2 separate regions of the Homo sapiens genome follow, and region 2 is linked to region 1. Evidence: promoter capture Hi-C in human tissues and cell types (Jung and others, 2019). All regions are on one chromosome and are shown on one strand. The core of a region is centred on a gene start or on the middle of the fragment in contact, and the rest is flanking DNA. Distances in the headings are between cores, read along the strand shown.

What was found. The method cuts DNA at HindIII sites, captures the fragments that hold promoters and counts their contacts. A contact is called where the count stands out against the background at its distance.
Region 2: a fragment that was not itself captured here is called in contact with the fragment with the promoter of ADAMTS16 in region 1 in 1 of the 25 tissues and cell types used here (heart right ventricle).

Annotation. Positions count from the first base shown.
Region 1 is chr5:5,139,000-5,146,736 of GRCh38, reverse strand. ADAMTS16 (ADAM metallopeptidase with thrombospondin type 1 motif 16) reads right to left here and starts at 6,407. Exons shown (of 23, transcript NM_139056.4): 1 at 6,198-6,407; 2 at 5,971-6,073; 3 at 282-607. The coding sequence starts at 6,269. It overlaps ADAMTS16-DT (ADAMTS16 divergent transcript), which reads left to right and starts at 6,683. Exons shown (of 4, transcript NR_109915.1): 1 at 6,683-6,781. ADAMTS16-AS1 (ADAMTS16 antisense RNA 1) reads left to right here. Exons shown (of 2, transcript NR_198969.1): 2 at 4,366-4,599. RefSeq lists enhancers at 76-1,275, 6,635-7,201. The HindIII fragment of the contact is 9,507 bases long and covers 3,263-7,737 here.
Region 2 is chr5:5,490,672-5,498,237 of GRCh38, reverse strand. No RefSeq gene overlaps it. Among named protein-coding and RNA genes, the nearest start is that of ICE1, 72 kb to the right of the region's middle. RefSeq lists enhancers at 1-420, 421-945 and silencers at 3,286-3,365, 3,406-3,455. The HindIII fragment of the contact is 3,187 bases long and covers 1,682-4,868 here.

The sequences.
Region 1 (7,737 bases), core at 5,158-7,657:
TTTGGCCAGCGGTTCTTATACACAAGTTTCAAGCTGAAGTGCTCGTCCACAATAATTCTAGAACAGCAGCAGCAGGGTGGGTGTGCACACTGTTTCCAAATAGGCCAGAGGAGGCACGCAATGTTTTTTGGAAAAGTTTTACTTGGCAATATTCCTCCTGCTTAATCTGCGCTGCAGTACTAGAAGAACATCTATGCGAAATCGAGGGAAAGTCCTGGTTACGCTCTCCTTTCCACCATCACCAACCTCGCCTCCCTACCTGGGGCTTGCGCTGTACTCACCAAGCCTTGGCAGGTTGAAAGGGCCACTGAGGAGTTTCTGTGTGATCGCAAAGAGCCTTGATAGAAACAGAAGTCCTCTGGCGGTAAAGTCTGCACAGACTTAGTGCCTGTCTTTCCCAACGTCTGCACAATAAAGCCAGGAGCCACTAGGCTGCTGGAAGTCCTCAGATCCATGTGGAAGTCGTGCCTGGAGCCTTTCAGCCGAAGGTGAAGAGACTCAACCTCGGACACGGGCACTGCTCTTCTCCGCCGCTGATGGTGCATGATTTCATGGGACACGTAATCGCCCCTGTGGTCAACCTCGTAGGCAGAGACCAGGTCATATTCTGAAATCAAAAGAGTGAGCAGAGGCTGAGTCATTTCGGAATTCCGAGAAGAATCAGGAAGTCTTAAGATATAATATTATTTTACCACATGACCTTTCCACCCAGTCAAAAATGATGAAGAAAAATGCAACACCTACCCATACTGAATTCAAAGTGTGCAATATGGAACATCACAGTTTAAAGAAAAAAATTGTAACAAGGGCCCCATAATGTGCTATTACCAAGCCAGGAAATTCTCCAACAGTGATGCGGTGATGTTAACAGCTGTCATCTGCCCTCCCAGCCACTCAGGGGCATGCTCCTCACCTCCCACCAGCTCCTACCACTGTAGCTGAGTCAGGGGAAGGATGACAGAAAGCAGGATGGCTTGTTCCAAACAGTGGAAGGTTAGCACATTTTATTGTGTATAAAAAGGTGATTACTCTTTAAGAAATCAAATTATTCTCAGATGAAATAAGTCATATTCTTATGACCTTTATTTTGAAGAGAGAAAATATTCGTCCTTTACTGGGGGCACATATAATATTTATCATGCAAAATAACTACTGGTAAGCCATGTTTACATAAACACAATGCTGTGGTAATAAACATTCAACAACCCGCTGTCTGGAGAAGAACGACCTGGATTTTGGCATTTGCCAATTTCCCTGGTGTAAATCTTCCCCTCATGGCTGATTTCAATGACTGCTGTGCCATCACTGAATATTCAGTGCACAGAGATACGCAGCAGCCCCCAGTGTGTGATATTTCTACCATACAGATGCAAAAGAGGCCAGTGGCCTCAAGAGCCTAGATTATTATCAAATATAGTGAAATAATTATGAAATGATGAGCTTTGAGTATTGCAATGTTTTTAATATAATTAATTTCACTGTAAATGTATGTATTTTAATTATTCTCACAGTGATTTGGTGTCTTTATTAATACAGTATTTTTTCCATAAATGGGAAAGACGTATTTGAAAGACTTCAAACACAATAATCTTGCAAGAGGAAAAGTTTGTCCTATCTAAAAACTCATATATATAAGTGGTAGGCTCATAATCTCCGCGTTCAGGCAAACTGAACTCCAAGAAGCCCTGCAAGGCTCCCGTGAGGCCCCAGTTGTTTTCGGAGAGCTCAATTCCAAAAGGCTGGGGGAGACGGACAGAGCTCCATGCCTCGCCCACCCAACAGGAGCATCTCCCACGGGCTCCACCCTTCCCACTCTTTCCACAGTTGGCTGCTTAGATGGCACCTGACTGCAGCTTGCTCCAGACTCAAAGACAGAGCCTGTAACTCTCTAAGAGCAGAGGAATGTTCACGAGCACCCTAAGAGGATAGCAGGGAAGGAGAATCCAGAAAACAGAGACAGAAGGGTGGGACAGGTGGCAGGAGATGTATAGCCTTCTAAATAGAAATCAATCGCATTAACAAAAAATCAGTCCACCACCGGCCACCTCTTTCAAACGCTGCTGATATCAGGAAATAAAAATGACACTACCCTCCTAAAGTCGGCTTTGGCAATGAGTTGCAAAATACTTTGACCTGGGAAATCACCCTGAGGAAATAATCCCAGACGAATTTTAAAAAGTTTATGTAAATATTTTCATGGAAGTATTATTTGTAATGAGGTAAAATTTTAAACAATAATCAACAACGGATAATTGGTAACTAAATTACCATAAAGCTATAGAAAGGAATACCTTAAAGCTTGTAAAAATATACTCTAAAAGAATGAAATCTAAAATATTATTTCACCACATGAGGCAAAGTTGATCAAATAATGAGCTTTCAAAGTACGTTGTAAGCTCTGAAGCCAAAGTGACCTTTTAAAGGAAAAAAAGTGTAGCCTGTAAGGAACACAGGGCAATAAGTAAATTCTTGTAGATTATCTGGACAAAATGCAGAAGGCAAATAGTAAAGGCAGAGGGGGGTAGGAAGAGAAACTAGCACAATTCTATTTTATATTCTCTGCATTGTTATTATGTTCGCTAGTGAGCATGTGACCATTGATTTTTTTTTTGTTATAATTTAAGTTCTGGGATACATGTGTAGAACGTACAGGTTTGTTACATAGGTATACATGTATCATGGTGGTTTGCTGCACCCATCAACCTGCCATCTACATTAGGTATTTCTAATGCTATCCCTCCCCTTGCCCCTCACCCCCCAACAAGCCCGGTGTGTGATGTTCCTTTCCCTGTGCCCATATGTTCTCAGTGTTCAACTCCCACTTACGAGTGAGAACATGCAGTGTTTGGTTTTCTGTTCCTGTGTTAGTTTGCTGAGAACGATGGTTTCCAGCTTCATCCATGTCCCTGCAAATGACATGAACTCATTCTTTTTTTATGGCTGCATAGAATTCCATGGTGTATATGTGCCACATTTTCTTTATCCAGTCTCTCATTGACGGGCATTTGGGTTGGTTCCAAGTCTTTGCTATTGTGAATAGTGCTTCACTAAACATATGTGTGCATGTGTCTTAATAGTAGAATGATTTATAATTCTCTGGGTATATACCCAGTAATGGGATTGCTGGGTCAAATGGTATTTCTTGTTCTAGATCCTTGAGGAATCGCCACACTGTCTTCCACAATGGTTGAACTAATTTACACTCCCACCAACTGTGTAAAAGTGTTCCTATTTCTCCACATCCTCTCCAGAATCTGTTGTTTTCTGACTTTTTAAAGATTGCCATTCTAAATGGCGTGAGATGGTATCTCGTTGTTGTTTTGATTTGCATTTCTCTAATGACCAATGATGATGAGGTTTTTTTCATATGTTTGTTGGCCGCATAAATGTCTTCTTTTGAAAATTGTCTGTTCATATACTTCACCCATTTTTTGATGGGGTTGTTTGTTTTTTTCTTCTAAATTTGTTTAAGTTTCTTGTAGATTCTGGATATTAGCCCATTGTCAGATGGATAGATTACAACAATTTTCTCTCATTCTCTAGGTTGCCTGTTCACTCTGATGATAGTTTCTTTTGCTGTGCAGAAGCTCTTTAGTTTAATTAGATCTTATTTGTCAGTTTTGGCTTTGTTGCAATTGCTTTTGGTTTTAGGTTTTAACATTTAAATAGTTAATCCACCTTGAGTTAGATTCTGTATAAGGTGTAAGGAAGGGTCCAGTTTCGGTTTTCTTCATATGGCTAGCCAGCTTTCCCAGCACCATTTATTAAATAGGGAATCCTTTCCCCATTGCTTGTTTTTGTCAGATGTGCCAAAGATCAGGTGGTTGTAGATGCGTGGTGTTATTTCTGAGGTCTCTGTTCTGTTCTATTGATCTATATATCTGTTTTGGTACCAGTACCATGCTTTTTTGGTTACTGTAGCCTTGTAGCATAGTTTGAAGTCAGGTAGGTAGTGTGTGACACCTCCAGCTTTGTTCTCTTTGCTATTTTGTAATTACTTCAGCCACCAAGAATGATTTGCAATAATAGTTTGAGTCATGCGCTACTTTAAACAAAATGTATGGCTACAATTAGTTATTTCAGAACCAACTTGTCTAATGGATACCTAGACAGGCAACAGTAAGTTGACCCCAGCAGTCACCAAGTGTCTTCTAGCTCTTCTGCTCCAGGTCAGAGGGAAACAGGCAACACTGTTGAGGAGGATCTTTTCTCTGGTGGCATAAAAGCTTGTTGTGGATGTCCAGACTCACACATTAGCCATTTATAATTAAGGAGCTAAAGTGCATAGAAGGTAGGGGAGGAGGGTGTGTGCTGTGTCCACTGGGCTAGAACTTCACTAAGAAGGGTTTGCCTCTTCCCCTTCAGGTTCTTACCAAGCCAGATAAGTGGTTGTCATGGAGACGATACGTTGTGACAACAACTGTGGTGCCAGGTGTTCAGAGCAGCACACTGGCACCCCACTCCCAGAGAGGATGCTGAAGCAGATTGAATCACTTTAGGAGAAAAGCACACTTAGGCACGAAGCCCTGGCTTTTCTTCTTCTTTCTTCTGTGTCTATAATGTGTTTTATCTTAAATAAAACTTCATAAATGCCATAAACTATTGTGGAAATCTCCTGAGTCCCTCTGGAATTTTCATGGTTTTAGGGAACTAGAATTTTTTTTTTTTTTTTTACAAAAATCTTACTTAAAAAGGTGAATTAGAATTAACCTTTAAAATTGTAAGAATTAACTTTTAGTATTGTAAGCAAAACCCTAAAAAGGACAAGGACAACCACAAGAGGATAGTCTGTAAATGGACAGATAATTAACTTTCTCTTGTAAATTCACTGTGACAATTTTTTTTAACATTTTATATCATTTGCACCTAGCGCCCCCTGGTGGTTCTCAAAAAGGTACTATGGTGAGCGTCAATCTGACACCGGTCACCTTATATACTATTTGTGTACTCATTTGGCAGGGAATAATTTCAAAAGTTAATGCATATATTAAGTGCTTGCCTTTATGTTATTTTATCAAATTGAAATAACTATACTGAGAAATTCTGAATTGTTAACTTTAATTTTCTAGATCTTCTGGAAATACATTGAGAGAATGAAACCTAGTTCTTCCTATAAAAGTCAATTAATATTAACATTTGATACGGCAATTTATTGTTGGTAACAATGCAAAATAATATTTATTAACTGTCATTGGATGGGTTCAGGTTAAAAAACCACCTAGCAACCAGTGCGACACACCTGCGTTCTCATTTACCTGATGCAGTATGAAGACACAGAGATCCCTTTCCATAAGACAGCAAATTTCCAAATGTCACTTGTAAGTGGCAGAAGTAAAAGCATGCATTGAAAAAGAATAAGACTTGCCCTCATGTCAAATTGTGGCCCAGGATATGAACGTTGCTGATGGTGTCACAATCAGCTGATTAGCCATTTCAGGCACTATTATGTTTGAAGTACGCCCTGATTGTTGGAGCATTAACTTTGGTATTGAGATGCTAAGCGCTTCTTTTATCTCCTTCACTGAGAATAAGCAACGATAGAGGAATATTTTAATCTATAAAGGAGGAGAAGGAGGAAAGGTTGGGGACGGGAAGGAGGATCCGAGGATGTAGAAGGGGACGGAAAAGAAAGTAATTTGCTCTTTATGACGGCTTTGATGCATACATTAATAGCTTTAGATTCTTCCTAAGCTCTTTAGAATAAAATAAAATGAACTTCCTCACCTTTTTCCTAATGTTATATCAATAACTCTGGCAAACCGTTTTGCCAGGGAATAAAATGTAAATATTGGTGGAAATCCACTCATCGGGGCTCGCTCATACAGTTAAAAAAAAAAAAAGTTCACAACAGCATCTTAAAAGTAGGGTTCCACAGAGTCGTGAACATTCACAGCACCTAATAAACCAGCGGCACGGAGATTACGAGCTGCTAAATGGCAAGGATTAGAAGCCCCCACCTCACGGACTTACCGCCCTTTTCCATCCAGCCCGGCCGCTCCGCGGGTGGAGGAGGACGCGGGACGCTCGGGCTCCCAGGCGCTGCCGCTGCGGGTCCCATGGCGCACGCAGGTGCCTGCGGAAAACAGCGGCGACATCGCGGTGAGACGGCGGGGTCCGCGGGAGAGGAGCCGCGGGGGACTCGCCTCCAGCTGTCCGGACCCGCGGTTTCCGCGCTGGTGGGAGCGCCCGGGACTCACCTGCTCGGCCACCTGCGCCAACAGCATCCACAGCGCCGCCAAGCCCCGCCATCCGCGCGCGCGGGGCTTCATCCAGGAGCGCTCCGAGGGGCTAGGGGCCACCGGAGGGTCCCCGGCCGGCAGCGTGCGAGCGGGCAGGGAGGACCCGACCCAGGCAGAGCGCGGGAGGATTCCCCACAGCGACTCCGCCGCCGCGCCGGGGTTATTACTGAAGCTCCGTGCGGCGCGGGGGGCGGAGTGGCAGCCGCGGCGGCGGGGGCGGCGGGAGCGGTGGGAGAGCGCGGGGCGGGCAGGGGAGAGAGGAGGGGAGGAGGTGAGGGCGGGGGGGTCAGAGGACCGAGGAGGGGAGAGTGCAGGGACAAAGAGCAGAGGGGAGGAGGCGAGGTCAGCGGGGCGCTGAGGCGGAGGCGAGCGGGGAGCAGAGGGAAGGCGGGAGACAGCGGGCAGCGCCAGAGGAGGAGGACGCGGGAAGATGGAGCTGCCCACGGCCTGCAGTCCGTGCCTCTCTGCCCGCGCGGGGACCACACAGTTGGAGAGGCTGCCGGGCACCGGCGCGGGCGATGCTCAGCATGGACCTCCGGCCGGTGCGCGCTCCTGCCCTGCCTTGGGGCTGGGGACTCGGCGGGACTCCAGCTACTGCAGTGGCTCCGCGGGCTCCCACCTCCGGGCCGCACCGGCGCCGCCAGAGGCCGGGACACCTGCAGCCCGCGGAGTGCGGTCTGGCCGCGCCTCTGTGCCCGGGCACAGCTGTGGGGACACTGGGTGCGGAAAACCGGGCGCCAGGACGTGGGAGAGCCGCGGACCTGCCTTTAAAGGCGCGTGCCTCGCTCTGGAGTTTGCGGAGCGATCGGAGACGGGGAGGCTGAGGAGGAAACTCTTCCCCCGCGCCATTTGCCCCGAGATGTGGCGGCGCTCCTGGCCCCGCGGTCACGGCCACCCTCAACTGGCCAGGCCGCGGAGGCCGGTGACTGGCTGCTGGGTGCAATCCCTAGGGAGGTCTCAGGGCTGCGGATGGGCCTGGGTCTCGGCCGCCACGGGGGTCGATCGGGCTACTGTGTGGACAGGGTGGCCAAGGAGGCAGCAGGTGTGCGGTCAACAGCCTGGCCAGAATTCTGCTGTAGCTGGATGGGGTGTGTGAGCGCGCGGGTGTACATGTGCCTGGGTGTGCGCGGGTGTACATCCACACCTGACTGCGTGTGCGCGAGTACACGCTGTGAGCCCATAGTGTGTCTGGAATTGGTGGGTTCTTGGTCTCACTGACTTCAAGAATGAAGCCGCATACCCTCGCGGTGAGTGGGTACAGCTCTTAAGGTGGTGCGTCTGGAGTTTGTTACTTCTGATGTTCAGATGTGTTCGGAGTTTCTTCCTTCTGGTGGGTTCGTGGTCTCGCTGGCTCAGGATTGAAGCTGCAGACCTAGGCGGTGAGTGTTACAGCTCTTAAGGCAGAGCCTCTGGAGTTGTTCGTTCTTCCCGGTGGGCTCGTGGTCTCGCTGGGCTCAGGAGTGAAGCTGCAGATCTTCACGGTGAGTGTTACAGCTCA
Region 2 (7,566 bases), core at 2,026-4,525, 350 kb before region 1:
CAACAATTCCAGGCAAGTTATATTGCGATTATTTTTTAATAATCACTATCACAATAATACAGACATTCCTGTAGGCTAAATGCCTTTTAATAAAGGACTCTATCATCTTTCCCCAGAGACTTTTTTTTTTTTTTTTTTAACCAAAGGAAACGTAGTGGTCAGAAAACACAGGGCAACAGGCCAGGAAGGGCTTTCTCCTCACAGCTGCACACTTTCACTCGCACAACCAAGTCTTCCTGAGCAGGGGGTGCGCAGGGCTCTCCTTTCTGGAGGTCAGATTCGGGTTGTCCAAACATTTGCCAATGTGACTGTGGTTTTCCATTAAGATATAGTGAGTCTTGGATTATCTGCGAGTGGTCAGGGTGGGAGCAGGTTCCTTGGCAGGTGGGAGAGGTGCCCTGGGGCGGGCAGAGCGCTGGGCATGTGCAGTTTGGCCATCCCACAGGGTCAGTGACTCTGCAACCCTCCTTCAAAACACGGTGGGGCACAGCAGGATGCAAAGACACAGAGACAGATTACTTCATCGCAAACATGCTTTTGCCTCTGAACTCCAACTCCTGAAACATTCCAAGGTGTTATTTTCTTACAAAACTGTTGCAATATTCGAAAAGTATCTAATTTCTCAATGCTGTCTGTAAAGCTCTTTATTGGAAGTTCCCTCTCAAGCGCTTTAGAAGCGTTGCCGCCACTGGCTCATGCAGTCTTTGCTTCTGTGGAAACGGCCCCTTTGAAATATACATGAGGAACATGTTTGAAAAAAGATGGCATTGGGTGGATTTGAAATACGCCTTTTGTTTCTTTTCTTTCCTAAGCCTGTTCTTGGTCTGAAGAAGGAGAGCTTCCATATGAAAGAACCGTTTTGAGAGCCAGGGTTCATGATCAAAGCGCAGAGCTCTCCCTGCTGGGGAGGACAGGCGGCTGCAGGGCTCACGTGGGCACCAGAGCCGGGGAACTGAATCAACATTATTTCCCACTAAAAACACTTGTATGGGGTTAGTAATAACAGTAACCAAAAAATCAGCTTGGGAAGCCAGGCATAGCATGTTTTTTGTTTGTTTGTTTGTTTTAGTTTGAAGATTTCTGTCTCCCTGACTCCTTTCTCTTTGCTCACTCGGGCATATTGTGGAATTTAAATGAAAAGAATTGTCAGATGAAAGACAAAATGAACCTCAACCTGTGAATAATAATAATAAAAAAAACCCTTCACAATTGCATAGCTTTTTTCTTAAGTGCATTAAAAAATAGATACGTAGAGCTAAAGAAAGCCAGAAATAAGGAAAGTAAGCTTATAGTTCCTAGAATTATATTCACGTTACTTTAGTTTATCCAATGCCAGTGCTTCTATTTAGAAATTAACATGCTGCACTTCAAAACTGCGTCAAAATCCAGAAAACTTACTTTCTCATCTCGAAGCAAGTTTTACAAACACAAAGATGCATTTAAAACATTATTCCGGATGATTGCCAATGTGATAGGGGTTAAATTTCTGTCTCTTAAAAAATACGAAATAGAAAAGGTCAGGAGAGAGTGCTTTAAAAATTCTATTTTCTGCTCCACTGCAGACTTAACAAACAGATTTTCAACATGCAAATAAAGGATGGCCCTCCGTTACAGAAATTCAGAACAAAAGTTGTTGGAACCCTCGGCTTCGACTGCAAGTCACAATTTCCCTCCTTCCATGAAGGTGCAGCAACCACAATGCAGATGGCTCTCCTGGACAACGGAATATGTTTCCCGTTTCTCAAGCAGGAAGAATAAGTATGTAATTGGCATTCTGGAGAATGACCTGCAAGAGAAGCTCATTGTTTCATAAAGCACTTTCGCATTTTAAGGTAGGCACAGGGTCCTGTTTGGTTTTCTCCTCCTTGGCGAACACATGTCTCCTGGAACACAGCGACACAGCTCTAAAGAGCATCGCTGCTGCCAGGGCATTGTGAGCTCAATTCTGCATTTACAGATGTGTTTCCACACTAACAAGGCCCTGGATTAAGTAAACATCCTACAATTTGTAGGTTCTTCCGCCTTGTAGACCATTTCCCCTTCTTCCCGGGACACGAGGGGTGATTTGAAAGAGAAGCTTATGAACAGCTTCTGAGTGACTAATGGGAGCGTCCTGGAATGGCTGGGGTGGCTCAGGATCACCTGTTCGATAGGCTCAGGACCCTGGAGCTTTCCCCATACACCTTTTTTATGTCTGAGGCAGCTGTAGGGCTGACAGAGAACCTCATTTAGCAGAAGACATTCCTGTAGGCTAAATGCCTTTTAATAAAGGACTCTATCATCTTTCTCCAGAGACTTTTTTTTTTTTTTTAACCAAAGGAAACGTAGTGGTCAGAAAATACAGGGCAACAGGCCAGGAAGGGCTTTCTCCTCACAGCTGCACACTTTCACTCGCACAGCCAAGTCTTCCTGAGCAGGGGGTGCGCGGGGCTCTCCTTTCTGGAGGTCAGATTCGGGTTGTCCAAACATTTGCCAATGTGACTGTGGTTTTCCATTAAGATATAGTGAGTCTTGGATTATCTGCGAGTGGTCAGGGTGGGAGCAGGTTCCTTGGCAGGTGGGAGAGGTGCCCTGGGGCGGGCAGAGCGCTGGGCATGTGCAGTTTGGCCATCCCACAGGGTCAGTGACTCTGCAACCCTCTTTCAAAACACGGTGGGGCACAGCAGGATGCAAAGACACCGAGACAGGTTACCTCATCGCAAACATGCTTTTGCCTCTGAAGTCCAACTCCTGAAACATTTCAAGGTGTTATTTTCTTACAAAACTGTTGCAATATTCTAAATGTGACTATTATTCAAAAATCAAAATGTTTACTTTATTTGAGGTTTTGCTACATTTTTACCAAGGATAGTTTTAAGAATCTCGCTGGTGTTGGCTTGGACTCGGGGATCCCGGCACACACGTCCAGCAAGTGTGGGGTTCCAGCACAGCCGCCGTGGAGGATCTGGGGCACAGGGGCCTCAGGCCTGACAGCGCCCGGTCCCTGGCGGCGAGCCAGGAGGCGCACCCCTAGAGGAAGCTCCTGCATCCCAAATCCTAAGCCCCGCGCCAGCGAGCCTTCCCGCAGCCTGCCCAGCAGCTTCGCTTCCAAGGGTCACGAGCTTCCCCAAGTAACCCGAAGCCCACGGAGGCCTCGACCCTTCCACCCCAGGGGACAACTTCCCCAGTGGAAGCGCACGCACAGGGCCGGAGTATGCACTGGCAGGAATAAGTAGCTGAAGAGGGCAGAAGGAGGCACCTCAAGTTTTATCCACCTCTGCGACGACTGTAAGTGACCAACGCGCAGGGAGTGCAGCACGGCGAGGTCACTGTTAGGCACCTGCCGGCAGGCCTGCGGGGCGGGGTTGCAGAGTCGGAGGCGGGGCTGTGGGTTCGGAGGTGGGGCTGCGGGGGCGGGGCTGCAGAGACTGGGCTGCAGAGATGGCGCTGCGGAGGCTGGGCCTGCGCTGCGGGTTCGCAGCTTCGGGTACCAGGATTGCAGGGGCGGGGCTGCGGGGGCGGAGCTGCGGGGGCGGGGCCGCTGGGCCTCAGGGCCTCAGGCTACGGGCGGGGCCGCCAGGGCGGGGCTACGAAGGCGGTGTCCTCAGCCCTGAGACCTCCATCTGCCCGGGCATCTCTGCGAGGGCAGCCAAAGACCCGCCAGTCAGTGCAGCCCCGGGAGAACAGGGCCTGGGCGACAGGGAGAGGGCATTCCAGTGCCGACCCGTTTCAATGTTTAATTTGCTATATGCATACAATAATACACAGGCAAGAGGAGGCTATTCAAGAATAGTATATATTGCATTACAAGTGAAACTATTAAAATGGATATAGTATAACAATAATTAATACAGAGAAACAATACCTAGGAGGGTCCGTTTATGGCTGTGGAAGGTCTGGTAGTTGAGGGTTTACATTCTCAGCTCCTCGCCTTCCCTTTTGAGTTTTTCAGTTGTGTACTCGTAATTTAGGGTGAGGTTATCTCAGAGCAGCAATTGATGACTGTTAAGGAAAAAGTAATATTCTTAAAGACTATGGGAAAAATTAAAAACAAAACCAGCTAGGGACTGGATTCAGTTCAAGGTGGTGGAAGGCAGTGAACAGCTTACCTTCTCCTCTTTCCAAATTTCCATGGAAATGGATCAAGGGATGGGACGGTGGGGAAAGCCATCTAGAGACCAGAGCTGTGACCCTCTGAAGACAGAAAGCAGCTGAGAAGGCAGAGGCCGCTCAGGCAGGGGGAGGGTGAGCAGACCTCGGGTGCAGAACAGAGCAGGCCGCAATGCTCAGAGAACTTACTGGGCAGTGTCTACCCAACTGCTGGGGGCATCCATGTCACCGGGAGGCACCCCCGGAGTTTCAAACTCAAGGGTTTTGGGTGAAGCTCTAGAATCTCCAGTCCTAAGAAGCCAGGTGTGATTTAGGCTCCCCACTGCCGACAGGCCCCGCGAAAGGTGCAGTTAAGAGAATGGCTGATGAGAGCTGGGCTCCAGGGTGAACGCTGGCACCTTGACACCCTGATGAGACACATCTTGTGTGCTTTGGAAGACAAGGTGGCCTGAGCCAAGGCATTCCAAGGTACTAACGTCCTTCACAAAAACACAAAGTTCTTCATGAAAGCAAGCAAAAGCATTCATTTTCATAGAAAACTGAATTATATCATTTTTATGGCTCTTCACTCACACTTCTGTTTTTGCCTCTGTCATCAGAACCTATTTCGTTGTGCAAAACAAACTGACTACAATACAGTGAGGGCGCTTTAATTCCTCAAAATTCCCCTTGGAGGGGCAAGAAAATGAACTTCTTGTTTCACAATTATGCACTCTGAATTTCCTTGAGAAAGCGTCAGGTAGATGGAAGCAAGCAAGAGAGGAAAGCATTTACAAGTTTATAGATCTGACTTTTTCAACTTTCTCCTAAATTTTTAAAACACCCCTCATTGAAACATTGTTGCATCCTAAGTCTTAATGAGGGCGGTTGATTAGATTTCCAGGTGTGAGCTCTATTCGCACTATAAATTCTTTGTAATATGGTTCTACACAAGATAATGCGTCAGGGATGCTTGAAAAAAGTAATGTTCAATGTGGGCAGGATGACTTAATTGACTAGTTTCTTTGCCTGCCAGTTCATCAGAGGAGAGTGACACAACCTGCCATTCACTTCACTGCCACTACCAATTACTCACCTGGTCACTTGCTTGTCTTTCTCCTTCCTTCCTTCCCTTCCTTCCTTCCTTCCTTCCTTCCTTCCTTCCCTCCCTCCCTCCCTCCCTCCCTCCTTCCTTCCTTCCTTCCTTCCTTCCTTCCTTCCTTCCTTCCCTCCCTCCTTCCTTCTCTTTCCTTTCTCTTTTTTTCTTTCTCTTTTTCTTTCCTCTTTCCTTCCTTTCTTTTTCTCTTTCTCTTTCTTTTCTTCTTTCTCCCTTCCTTCCCTTTCTTCTTGTTGTTTTTTGATCAAAGGACTTAAGTATTTGCTTTTTTCTTTTTTGAAATGTGCTCTTAAACACGAACTTTACATGTTATTCTATCCACACATTTTCCCCATTTACTTATTAATAATGGCCCTAGGAAGTGCAAGGAACACCCCAAACGTGAATGGAAATGCTTCCCTGATAGAAAGGCTCTCAGAGCGCCAAATTCTGCACCCAGACGACCTCTCCAGTTAAGGTTCCCTGTCTCTTCCGGATGGTTTGTTCATGGGTGAGTCTACAGTGCCCTCTAATGGCTACAGTGCAGTTCTTTCCAAGTCCAGGTATGAATTTATTTCTATTTCATGTTCCTTAAATATTGAACTTGCTGAATTACACTGCCACATCCTATTTTAAAAAACAAACAATGTAACAGAGTACTTTCTCTGTGAAAAATGACACTCCGAAGTGTGTAATCATCTTGCTGTCCGTCCACACTCTGTTGACCATTTTCACCCTCTTCACTGCTGCCCTGGCTTCCCACGCAAATACCATCATGTGCAGACGCTCCGAGAATCTCTGCCTTTGCCCAGCGCAGCCTGATTCAGTGTCTCCTGCTTACCTCTGCACTGAAAGGCTTATCAAGCTGCAGGGGAACCAGCTTGAGCCGCCAAGCACCAGTTGAAAGCCTCATCTAACTCCAGGCTGAAAAGTGTTCATTTTTGTGTTTACAGTTTTAGTCTTTTTTTTTGGTTCAAGTAATAAAACGTTAAAATAATGTTCTGTTTCGGTACTAGAAATTAATAACAGCTTAAAACCTTTCCACTCTCTGGGGATAACACAGTACAGTGGGCAACTTCAAGCCTATTATTTGTCGTCATCAGTTCATATGGAGTGGATGCTGCCAAGTAAACTCAAGGAACAAGTATGGCAAGCAAAAGTCAGCACGGGTGCTAATAAACGACAGTGCCCCTCCTCTCCATTAATTAAAAACACATACGACTGCTGAGGTTTAACATGTTTGAACCACCTGACAAATCCACTCACTAAGCACAATTTCCACAAACTCAGTGGACCACGCCCTGCTCTTCTCTCTTCCTTACTTCCCACTCCCTGTGCCACCCATTCCAAGCCCATCAGTATGTGGGAGATGCTCACCAAGGTCACTCACCTCACCTGACCTTGCAGCTTCCAGCCACATCGGTAGCCAAGTGCCTGGACAATACATGACTGACAAGTTTCCTCCCAAAACACCTCCTGCCCCGTCTTTCATCTTCTCCCTCTCCCATGGCACTTCAAATTATAGGAGGGACTGGGGGGAAGTTATTTTTCTCCCTAGGTGAACGCAGAAATACACACACAGAGCTTTAAGTAGTCTCCATATGCTATCAACTTCCAAAGCTCTGTCACATCCCTTCTATATAGTTTTTCCTGTAAAGGTTCCCTGCCACCTCTCCTTGGAGGTCTTATGGTTCCCATGTCCCAAATGGAAAGCTCGAGTCGTGATTCCTACCACCTGTAATTCCTAAACCTGTGTGCATCTATCCCCAACTCCAGGTGCTCAACTCAGTAACCTGGACGTCTTCCCTGATTCTTCCCCGGAACTTCATGAACACAGCATCAATTCTACCCCAATAGATGTGAAGTCCATCTGCCCTTTGTCATCTGCACCCTCACAACCGTCAGCTCCCAGCTCCACCTGTTGCAGTCGCCTCCTAACAGGTCTCTCCACTTCACCTCTTGCCCTTCTCACATCCCTTTTCATCAGAACAGCTCCAGTGAACTATCGCACGTGACACCTCCACTCAATCTCCCTGGAGCCTCAGATGCCACTCAGCATGAAAGTGCTCCCAGCTGTCTTGAGTGACTGGCAGTTATCTAACCTGATCCCATGGACACGTGACAGGTGTTTTGGCTCCAGCAGACTCCTTCTGGCACTCATGGGATTGTTGCCTTGCAGGGCTGCCCCAGCAGGGACATTCCTCCTGCCTGCTTTCAAGTCTGGGTCCCTCCATCCAGGTCCTTGTAATGTTACCTCCTCAGAGAGATCCTCTTCGACCACGATGTGGAAAGAGGCATCTACCCTGCTACTCTATACGCAAAGCTCCAGGTTTTCTTTGTTGCTATTTCCCCAATTTATGATTGTTGTATATACTGGGTGACCACTCGTTTAGGATTTTCCT